Regions from separate parts of the Homo sapiens genome. Here region 2 is linked to region 1. The links are contacts of gene promoters, found by promoter capture Hi-C in blood cells and fetal thymus (Javierre and others, 2016). All regions are on one chromosome and are shown on one strand. The core of a region is centred on a gene start or on the middle of the fragment in contact, and the rest is flanking DNA. Distances in the headings are between cores, read along the strand shown.

Region 1 (4,911 bases), core at 812-3,311:
TCAGCATTGTAAGTTGGTGGACTGTCAATCAAATGTGATCTGGCTGAAATTTTCAAAGAAAAAAATGTTTTATTTATTCTCATTTGTTAAGTAAATCAACCATTATTTTTATTGTAAAATGTGGAAAGTGGCACCTGAGGTTGAATGTAACTCCAAAATAAAAAAAATCTATTTTTAAACAACTACACTTTATAGTCTAATGGCCACTTGAAATACATCTTTAATAAAATACATATACTCTGCACATTATAATCTGGCAATATTGATTTTTCAGGTAGCCATCTGCTCACTATCCAAGAGGCCTATGAAAGGAATGGCTGAGTATGGCACCCACTTTAGAATCATGGAAAGTTATTTTCTTGCTGATCCAAATCCAAATTTATTTTAATGGGTGCTACATGTTCAGAACAATTCTGTGGCCCATGGGCATTCAATAAACAGCTGGACCATGCTACCTCCACAAACTGACCAAACAGTAAAGGTTAGAAGAGGTATACAGAGTTGTGAGCAGACTGTATAAACTGGATGGGACTAAATGTCAATATTTTTGGCGATTAAGATGGAAGGCAAACTTAAAAGCTATCTTAAAGTCTTTTTGATAAGCTTGGAAATATGTTTTTAGATTAGGCTTACAGTATTATAAAGCATATTTTTCTTTGAGAAGGCTAAAAACCTTAGAAAGACACTTGTACTTACATGTCAACACATAACTCATAATTGCATTTCGAAGGAAGGGAATGTTATTCACAACGTTCCAAAATCCCTTGAAGTGGGTAAGTATGTAGTGCACTGTGTTTGGAGTGGGTTTCAGAAATAATTTTATTCTTGTCAAAAATTCCGCTGCAAGAAGACGAAGAAAGGGAGGGAGAAATTAATGGGACTCATTATAAGACACAAATCTATACAATGATAACTGTATCCAGCCCCACTCCTAATGAGGCAACCAAAGGACAAACTTACGTGTTGAGCAGTTTTCTCCATAGAATCCTGTCCGGGTACAATCGCACTTATACTGGTCAAATCCCACACTCATACATACACCTCGGTTTTGACATGGGTGGGAACAGCAAGGATTTGCTGCAATTAAAGGACAGCAAATAAATCATTCTCTAGTGTCTTAATCTTAATTTAAACATTTAATTGTTTGACTATGAATCAACTTTACAATAATAAATTCAAGAAATATATAGGTAGTCATGGAAATACAATTTTTTAACCTGCCTTAGAATGGATAAAACGTAGAAATACCAATTTTCTATTCTAAATAAGGATAACAGCATATTCAACTTGGTACATCATGTTACTAAGCTTTTCTTAGTTAACTCTTTAGATGTTAAAATTAGCATTTTTAAGAAGTTCAAATAAGTAGCACTTCACTTTCCAAATTAAAATGGATCTAGTACACTAATCAACATTTAGGGAAAAATTCAAAGTAAAACAGCTTACTTTTAAGACATTTTGCTTATCTTAAAACATAATCCGGGCTTTCCTGGGAGCAGGAAAGAACTGACTAGAATATTTAAAACAACTTCTTCCACTCAATAAAAAGGTTCCAAATATAAACAATTCACATATATTGATCAGATCCTGTCTTATCATAATGACAACCTGCAAATTAGTATCATCTATCCCTATTTAGGAGGTGAGAGTGTCTCAGATCGGTTAAGTAACTGGCTCATAATGATCAGTGCTTGTGGGAAAGCTGGAATATCCACGGAGTTCTTTCGAACTCTAGCGGTCCAAGCTCTTTCCCAAGTCACGTAGCTTCTCTATTCGGAGAGAAGTCGGAGTACTGGGATAGACCCAGGAGGTCAGAGCGGAAACTCTGCCCGGGTGCGTGGAACCGGAGTCCCCGGTGCGCGGCGCCAGGTACTCACCTGTATGGCTGAGCGCCAGGACCGCGCACAGCAGCAGGGCGCGGGCGAGCATCGCAGCGGCGGGCAGGGCGCGGCGCGGGGGTAGGCTTTGCTGTCTGAGGGCGTCTGGCTGTGGAGCTGAAGGAGGCGCTGCTGAGGAGTTCCTGGACGTGCTCCTGACGCTCACTGCAAGTCGTATGACAATTGGTCGCTAACCGAGAGAACCTTCCTTTTTATAAGACTGAAAACCAAGCCCATGTGACGAAATGACTGTTTCTTTCCGCCTTTTCGTACCCCCCACAAATTTTTCCCTCCTCTCCCCTTAAAAAAATTGCGTAAGCCCGGTGGGGGCAGGGTTTTTTACCCACGGAAATGAGAAAATCGGAAACCCAGGAAGCTGCCCCAATTTGGGAGCAGAGGGGGTAGTCCCCACTCTCCTGTCTGATCCCTCCCTCTCCTCCCCGAGTTCCACCGCCCCAGGCGCACAGGTTTCCGCCAGATGTCTTTTCTTCTTCGCAGTCTTTGCCCGAGCGCTTCCGAGAGCCAGTTCTGGACTGATCGCCTTGGATGGGATACCGGGGGAGGGCAGAAGGACACTTGGCTTCCTCTCCAGGAATCTGAGCGGCCCTGAGGTCCGGGGGCGCAGGGAATCCCCTCTCCCGCCGCCGCCGCCGTGTCTGGTCTGTACGTCTTTAGAGGGTCGAGGAAGTCACGTCGGGACAGACTGGGGCGAGTAAGGTTAAGAAAGGCTGACATGTTTTATGTTTTAGTGACGACGCTTAATAGGCTGTATATCTGCTCTATATGCAGCACATACATACATAGCTTTTTAAAAAACTCTTATTTTGTGGAATGAAATAGCTACCTTCAGTGTACATAGCTGTAATTTATCTTTGTAGCTAAGTTGCTTTCAACAGAAGAAATACTGTTCTCCGTACCTTCACCCCCTCCTTGTTTCTTGGAAAGAGAGGCGGGAAAGGTAAATTCTCCTCATAATACTGGTCCTAAGCAGTTACCCTGTAAATAGTTAATGTGAGCTCCACGGGTCACCAATATAAAGTTTCCTGCCTTCTGATGGACAAAGGAAGCGGCGATGGCCAGAATTTGCAGGGACGCTAAATGTCCAAAACGTATGCCTTAAGGCATTTCTCTCCCTGATGCGTGGATTATTTTGGTTACTAGCCCTTCATAGGAGATACTGGTAAAATAAATTCGAGTTTTAAAGTTCACTCTTTTGTCTTTTCTGTCCACTTTTCCAAGATTATGAGTTGTGACCATGGATCAAAGTACAACATAGCATTTACTTTTCAGTTGCCTGGGCTTATTGGGGCTAATTTTCTATTCTCGTTTTGGAACATAGTTGGATGAGGAATTAATTAGATGGAAGGGAGATTTTGACAGTTGGAATTTCATCTTTGCTTTTGTTTAACATCTATCATGGGTAGTGCTCAGGGAGGAGCATGTGAGGGTGAGATACTAAAAAATATATATATGTATATGTGTGTGTGTATATATACATATATATATACACACACACCAGAAAAGAAGTGGAAAATAGAAAATTCAGTTATGTCCTAAGTCCTTAGCATTACAGGAAAATGACAGCATAAAACCTGAAATAAAACTACACCAGGTACCTCAATTTGTAGAAGTCTTATAAGAAAAAAATAAATAAGAGACTCACTTGGAGGTTTTTTTTTTAACTGTTTTGCTTAGTGTACACATCTGATTCTTCATGAGACACGGATGACTAAAATTCCATCTCATCTAGGAAGCCTTTCTCCTCCTCTAGTCATATTTCATCATTCCATTTATGGCACTCCTATTTATTGCATGGAATCTTACATGAAATTTCAACTAAGAGCGTGGATCATTTTCTTTTTGATAATTTAATAATTTCAATCTTCTGTTTCATTTTAAAGGAGTAGGTTGCATCTACTGAAATTTGAAGTTTATAGTTAGAGCTACTAATGTTAGTTTGGGTTAGAAGCCATGTTAGAATCCATACTGTGAGAGAGTACTAAAATTTTACATTACAATCCTGAATTCATTTTGAAGTGATCATCATCATTGTCTTCCTTATCAGACATTAATTGTTCTGTTGTCTGAAAAGAGATTTGGATACAAAAGTGAGGGAAAAACAGGGCATAAGGAATAATTATATTTAGATTATTTTAAACTCAAAGGAATTGAACTCCATCTATCCCATAGTGGAAATTCTGTCACTTATATAGCAGGATAGAGTGAAGAGTTCCATGTACTTGGAAAGTCAAAAAAAAAAGTTCAAGGAGAATCTGGGACTTTAAGGATGGGCAGAGTTTTAGAAAGAAGTGCAAATCTGAGCATAAGGAAAAAAGTTACATAATTTATTAAATAACTGACAATTCTGAGACAATAAAATAAAACGGATAGGTACATTTGGGATGCTGGTCATGGGAGTGTATTAAATGTGCCAAACTAAATTAAGACCACTAAACCTGTTTTATATGGAAAAGTACTGTGACTATTGTGTACCATAAAAAAAAGGTTTGATCATGTAAAACTTATAGCTCTCATGTTTGCATATATTCAATGTTTCTGTGTCTATTTTAGGCAAATATATGGATCTGTTGTACAAAATTTCTATTAGCGTCTGAAATTTGTTGGGAAATAATCTACATGAAAAGAAAATAAGGAAGAATCTTAAAAATCTTCCAGAGCTTTCTGTTGAGTTTTACTGCCCCCTTCTGCTGCTTGAAATTTTGTCAACTTTTTTCCTAAGATGCTAGGAAGATTGCCAGACAGATTTTGTGTTTAATTTTATAATGTTCTAAACATTCACATGTTGCACTGTTCATTTCAGATTTGTTTCATGAATATGTTGAAAAGAAATGAAATATTTATTAATTGAAGTGATAAGCCATTCATGTGAGTTAAAAGAAAATGAACAATAAAGACTCTTAATGTCCAAAATTCCAAATAAACTAACTTTTTTTTCCCTTCCTTGTACTTTGAGCAGGGTTCTACTACTCATACATACAGATCCATTATCTCAGGCAAGGGTCCTCTTTCTATT
Region 2 (4,911 bases), core at 1,755-4,254, 57 kb before region 1:
GCTTCTGTTATTAATTACTGACTCTGTGACTTTAGGCAAGTTACCTAATCACTTTGGGATTCAGTTTCCATTTCTGGAAAAGGGTAACAATAATAGTACCTGCAGCAATGGGTTGTGATAATTCAATGGGTTAATGCCTAAAGAATAGAACCTACATAAAAATTTCAATAAATAGTAATTATTATTACTTGTACAGCAGGCTGTGATGTCATCTGGTATATAACACATTATTTATAGTTGACTATTCATAAGCCTGTGTGGTGGCTCTGCAATGTGTTGGCTAGGCCAAGTTATCTTTCCTGTGTGTTTCTGGTTAGAGTAAACCACAAGAAACATTCTTGTGCAAAACTTGGAGGGCATAAGTGAAAAAGCAATTATTTTGTAGCTCACATGCATTGTCATTTATGTCCTGGCTCACGCAATTTGTGTGAGTCAGTGGCTGGGCCTACTACTCTTCTACTTTCCCCTGGATCTTCTTAGAGATTCTCACAGATTCTCTGACTCCCAGGATAGGTGTGTTTGTTTAGCTCCATGGTGAAGCACCCTGACTTCTCCAGGACACCCACACCACTAAGGGCAGAGACAACAAGAACTAACACAAGTTTTAGTCCATCCTCACAGGTTCCAGCTTGTGCTTGTGGGTTCCTGCCTATTCTTAATCTCCTGACTTTACAGGCATCTTCCCTTCTTCACTGTCAGCCTCACGGATTTTTTTTTTTTTTTTTTTTTGAGATAGGGTCTCACTCTGTCACCCAGGCAGCGGCACTATCATAACTCACTGCAACCTCGAACTCCTGGGCTCAAGTGATCCTCCCACCTCAGCCTCTCAAGTAGTTAGCACTACAGGTGCATGACACTAAGCCTGGCAAATTTTTGGATTTTTTGTAGAGACAAAGGTCTCACTATGTTTCCCAGGCTGTTCTTGAACTCCTAGGCTCAAGTGATCCTCTCGCCTTGGCCTCCCAAAGCACTGGGATTATAGGCATGTGCCACTGCTCCCATTCCTGCCTCGCAGATATTAAGATCCGGCATCAGATGCTGATTCTTAACTAGCTCCCATAATTGTGTAAGGTCAAACACCTGTAACAAATCCTTTTAGAGAGAGAGAGAGAGAGATCCCTAATAGTCCTTATTCCCTGATTGAACTCTCTGACTGATATGCCCAGCATAACTAAAATAGTTCCACTTGGCAGCAACATGATTACAGACAAAAATGAAAACATGGGCAATGAAATCCTGTGGGATATTTGGTTATAACAAAGTCACTCATAGAATGCAGAATAGAATTATTTTTGGATGATTATGAAAATGAAATTTTACAATAAAAAATTCTCATAAGATATCCTACATTATGTTGAAAAATATTTCTGTTATTCATTCTTATTTGGCTTTTTACATAGCAAGTTTTGGAGACATTGAATACCTGATGTTCTTGTACTTCCCATTCCCAACTTCTTTTGTTGCAGACACTGTTGCCTTGAACTTTTTGGAGGAAAAAAAGACATACCATAACTCATCCTTTTCTGTTTCCAAACTTATCTCCTGACTCAAAAGAATCCCACCTATCTCTCACAAATATACTTATTCTTTATTCAATCTATCATTTAAAAACATTATTCGGTATCTGCTATATGCTAGACATAGAACTGTTGCTATATATACAAAGACAAATCACTGTATTTTTGTTAAAGGAGCTGAGTTTCTAATACAGGTGAGAAGCAAACAATCTAACAATGACAGTACAGGGCAATGGGTGCCATAATGGGGCCATGCACAGGACTCTACAGAAGAGGTTGCCAGCTCACAATAGGATGTTGGAGAGAGCTTTCCAGAGAGGGAATACTTGGATATTTATTTACCTTTTTTGAGACGGAGTCTCACTCTGTCGCCCAGGCTGGAGTGCAGTGGAGTGATCTTGGCTCACTGCAAGCTCCGCCTGCTGGGTTCACGCCATTCTCCTGCCTCAGCCTCCCAAGTAGCTGGGACTACAGGCGCCCGCCACCACGCCCGGCTAATTTTTTTATGTTTTTAGTAGAGATGGGGTTTCACCATGTTAGCCAGGATGGGCTCGATATCCCGACCTCGTGATCCGCCCGCCTGGGACTCTCAAAGTGCTGGGATTACAGGCGTGAGCCACCGCGCCTGGCCTACTTGCGTTAAATATTACAGTCTGAATAAGGATTAGACTGTAGAAGGTGAAGGATCTTTTGGACTGAAAGAACAGGATTGTAAAGTTCTGGAGGTGCAAGGAAACATGGAATATTTTAGAAAATGTCTAATAGGGACTCACAAGTTCGAAGGTGAGGAGCAAGATCTAGGTTAGAATCACACTGCAGAATTATCTTCACTCAGTAAACAATTGAAGTCGTGGGCGAGAGAATACAGGCTGACCACAAACAGCAGGAAGACGATAGTGGCCAAGGACAGCACTCAGTTGGGCCACAGCACTTTCCAAGGTGAAAAGGAAGGAGAGCATGGGAAGCACACAGAAGGGGAGGCCAGAGAAGATGCAGGAGAGAATTATGTCCTAGAATCCAGATCTGCAAGAAAATTAATTTCTATTGTTTATACCAGTCTTGGGTATTTTGTTGCACAGCACAAATAGACTAAGACAAGGTGATATGCCAAGCACAGTGGCTCATATCTATAATCCCAGCACTTTGGGAAGCTGAGGCAGGCAGATCACCTGAGGTCAGGAGTTTGAGACCAGCCTGGCCATCATGGTGAAACCCTGTCTCTACAATTAGCCAGGCGTGTTGGTGGGTGCCTGTAGTCTCAGCTACTCAGGAGGCTGAGGCAGGAGAAATCGCTGGAACCCAGGAGGCGGAGGTTGCAGTAAGCTGAGATTGTGCCATTGCACTCCAGCCTGGGCGACAAGAACAAAACTCCATCTCAAAAAAAAAAAAAAAAGAAGAAGAAGGTTTATGAATCATTGCGTGTATCCACCAACTTCCTGCCAGGAGGATGCATGCCCCAATAGGGACCGCACTGTAATCCTGGGTCCTATGAGAGGAAGATGAGGAACAGAGCCCTTGCAGATGACCTACTGGTCCTGACATGGACCATGAGGAAAATTTAATGTTTGTTGTTGTAAGCCACTTGGTTTGAGTTGTTTTATCACCTCAGCAAAGCCGATTAGTATAGAATTTGGTGATGGATTTGAAGTATTGCTATTACAAAGTACCTAAAAAGAATATGACATTTAGACTTGTATTTAAGATTGAGCACATTAGCAAATTTGGGGCACAAGGTAATACCTTTATGACGAGAATAAACATTTTTACAGCCCTCTCTGTGTCAGAAGTTTTGAGTCTTCTTAAGTGTTAAGCGTCCATTATTATGTGGCATAAAGAAATAAATTTATTCCAGCTTTTAAATGGATTTTTACTTTTGGCCTCTTCACTGGAGTAGTGACATTTCGACATGATCATTATTTAGGTTGTCATGGATATATTGATTTTCATACTTATTTTGCAGCTAAAATATTTAAATGTTGATATTTTAATTATTACTGTAATTTATGGGTGACTGGACAAGAATTATTATTAGTAGTAGTAGTAGTAGTTTTTTTTTTTTTTTTTTTTTTGAGACGGAGTCTCGCTCTGTCGCCCAGGCTGGAGTGCAGTGGCGCAATCTCAGCTCATTGCAAGCTCCGCCTCCTGGGTTCACGCCATTCTCCCGCCTCAGCCTCCCGAGTAGCTGGGACTACAAGGCGTCCGCGACCACGCCCGGCTAATTTTTTGTATTTTTTTTTTAGTAGAGACACGGTTTCACCATTCACAGGATGGTCTCGATCTCCTGACCTTGTGATCCGCCCGCCTCGGCCTCCGAAAGTGCTGGAATTACAGGCGTGAGCCAACACGCCCGGCCGACAAGAATTATTAATATATGACTGTTCTTAGGCTGTGCCCACTTCATCTATACAGAAGGAGGTTCTGTCACACCCACTGTGATTCTGAAGAGTGTTATGCAGAATCCTGGAATCTGGGAAAAAGTAGCAAGAATAAATGTCACAGACTATTTTTAAACAATTATTATTTAGGAAAAGGAGTAAAAAAGGAAGATAAGCTAAACTCTTCAGGGGCTTGGCAATATCTGAACATGCGACATATTATTAGCAAGACGTGGAAGTTTTAGGTGCAGAAATGAGAGATGTGATCAGGGAGATCTGGGGAACAGAGTAATACTTTTGAGAAAAAGAGTCATCCTGGGTAGGAGGAAAGTGATAACCATCTGGGATTTTCAGGGTGTTGGAGAACTGAAAAGGACAGAAATTGGATTTTTTTTTGATTGTTTGTTTTTGAGACGGAGTCTCACTTCTTTATTTTTTATTTATTTATTTATTTTTTGAGACGGAGTCTCGCTCTGTCGCCCAGGCTGGAGTGCAGTGGTGGGATCTCGGCTCACTGCAAGCTCCACCTCCCGGGTTCACGTCTTTCTCCTGCCTTAGCCTCCGGAGCGGCTGGGACTACAGGCGCCCGACACCACGCCCAGCTAATTTTTTGTATTTTTAGTAGAGACGGGGTTTCACCGTGTTAGGGAGTCTCACTTCTTCACCCAGGCAGGAGTGCAATGACGCGATCTCTGCCCACTGCAACCTCCGTCTCCCGGGTTCAAGCAATTTCCCTGCCTCAGCCTCCCCAGTAGCTGGGATTACAGGCAAGTGCCACCACGCCCGGCTAATTTTCGTATTTTCAGTAGAGACAGGGTTTCACCATGTTTTGGCCAGGCTGGTCTCGAACTCCTGACCTCAAGTAATCCGCCTGTCTTGGCCTCCCAAAATGCCGGGCTTATAGGCAATGAGCCACCGCGCCTGGCCAGAAATTGAAATTTAATGAGTTATTGTAGACTTACGTACTTGGGTTTCTCCTGATGACCTGGGGGAACAACATAAAGAAAAATCAAAATTCT

What was found. The method cuts DNA at HindIII sites, captures the fragments that hold promoters and counts their contacts. A CHiCAGO score of 5 or more calls a contact.
Region 2: a fragment that was not itself captured here is called in contact with the fragment with the promoter of PTGS2 in region 1 in 2 of 17 cell types (neutrophils and monocytes); the score reaches 6.5 in neutrophils.

What each region holds. Positions count from the first base shown.
Region 1 is chr1:186,678,362-186,683,272 of GRCh38, forward strand. PTGS2 (prostaglandin-endoperoxide synthase 2) reads right to left here and starts at 2,062. Exons shown (of 10, transcript NM_000963.4): 1 at 1,878-2,062; 2 at 961-1,077; 3 at 697-840; 4 at 1-43. The coding sequence starts at 1,929. PACERR (PTGS2 antisense NFKB1 complex-mediated expression regulator RNA) reads left to right here and starts at 2,293. Exons shown (of 1, transcript NR_125801.1): 1 at 2,293-3,085. RefSeq lists an enhancer at 1-412. The HindIII fragment of the contact is 7,534 bases long and covers 1,307-4,911 here.
Region 2 is chr1:186,620,772-186,625,682 of GRCh38, forward strand. No RefSeq gene overlaps it. Among named protein-coding and RNA genes, the nearest start is that of PTGS2, 57 kb to the right of the region's middle. The HindIII fragment of the contact is 9,391 bases long and covers 1-4,911 here.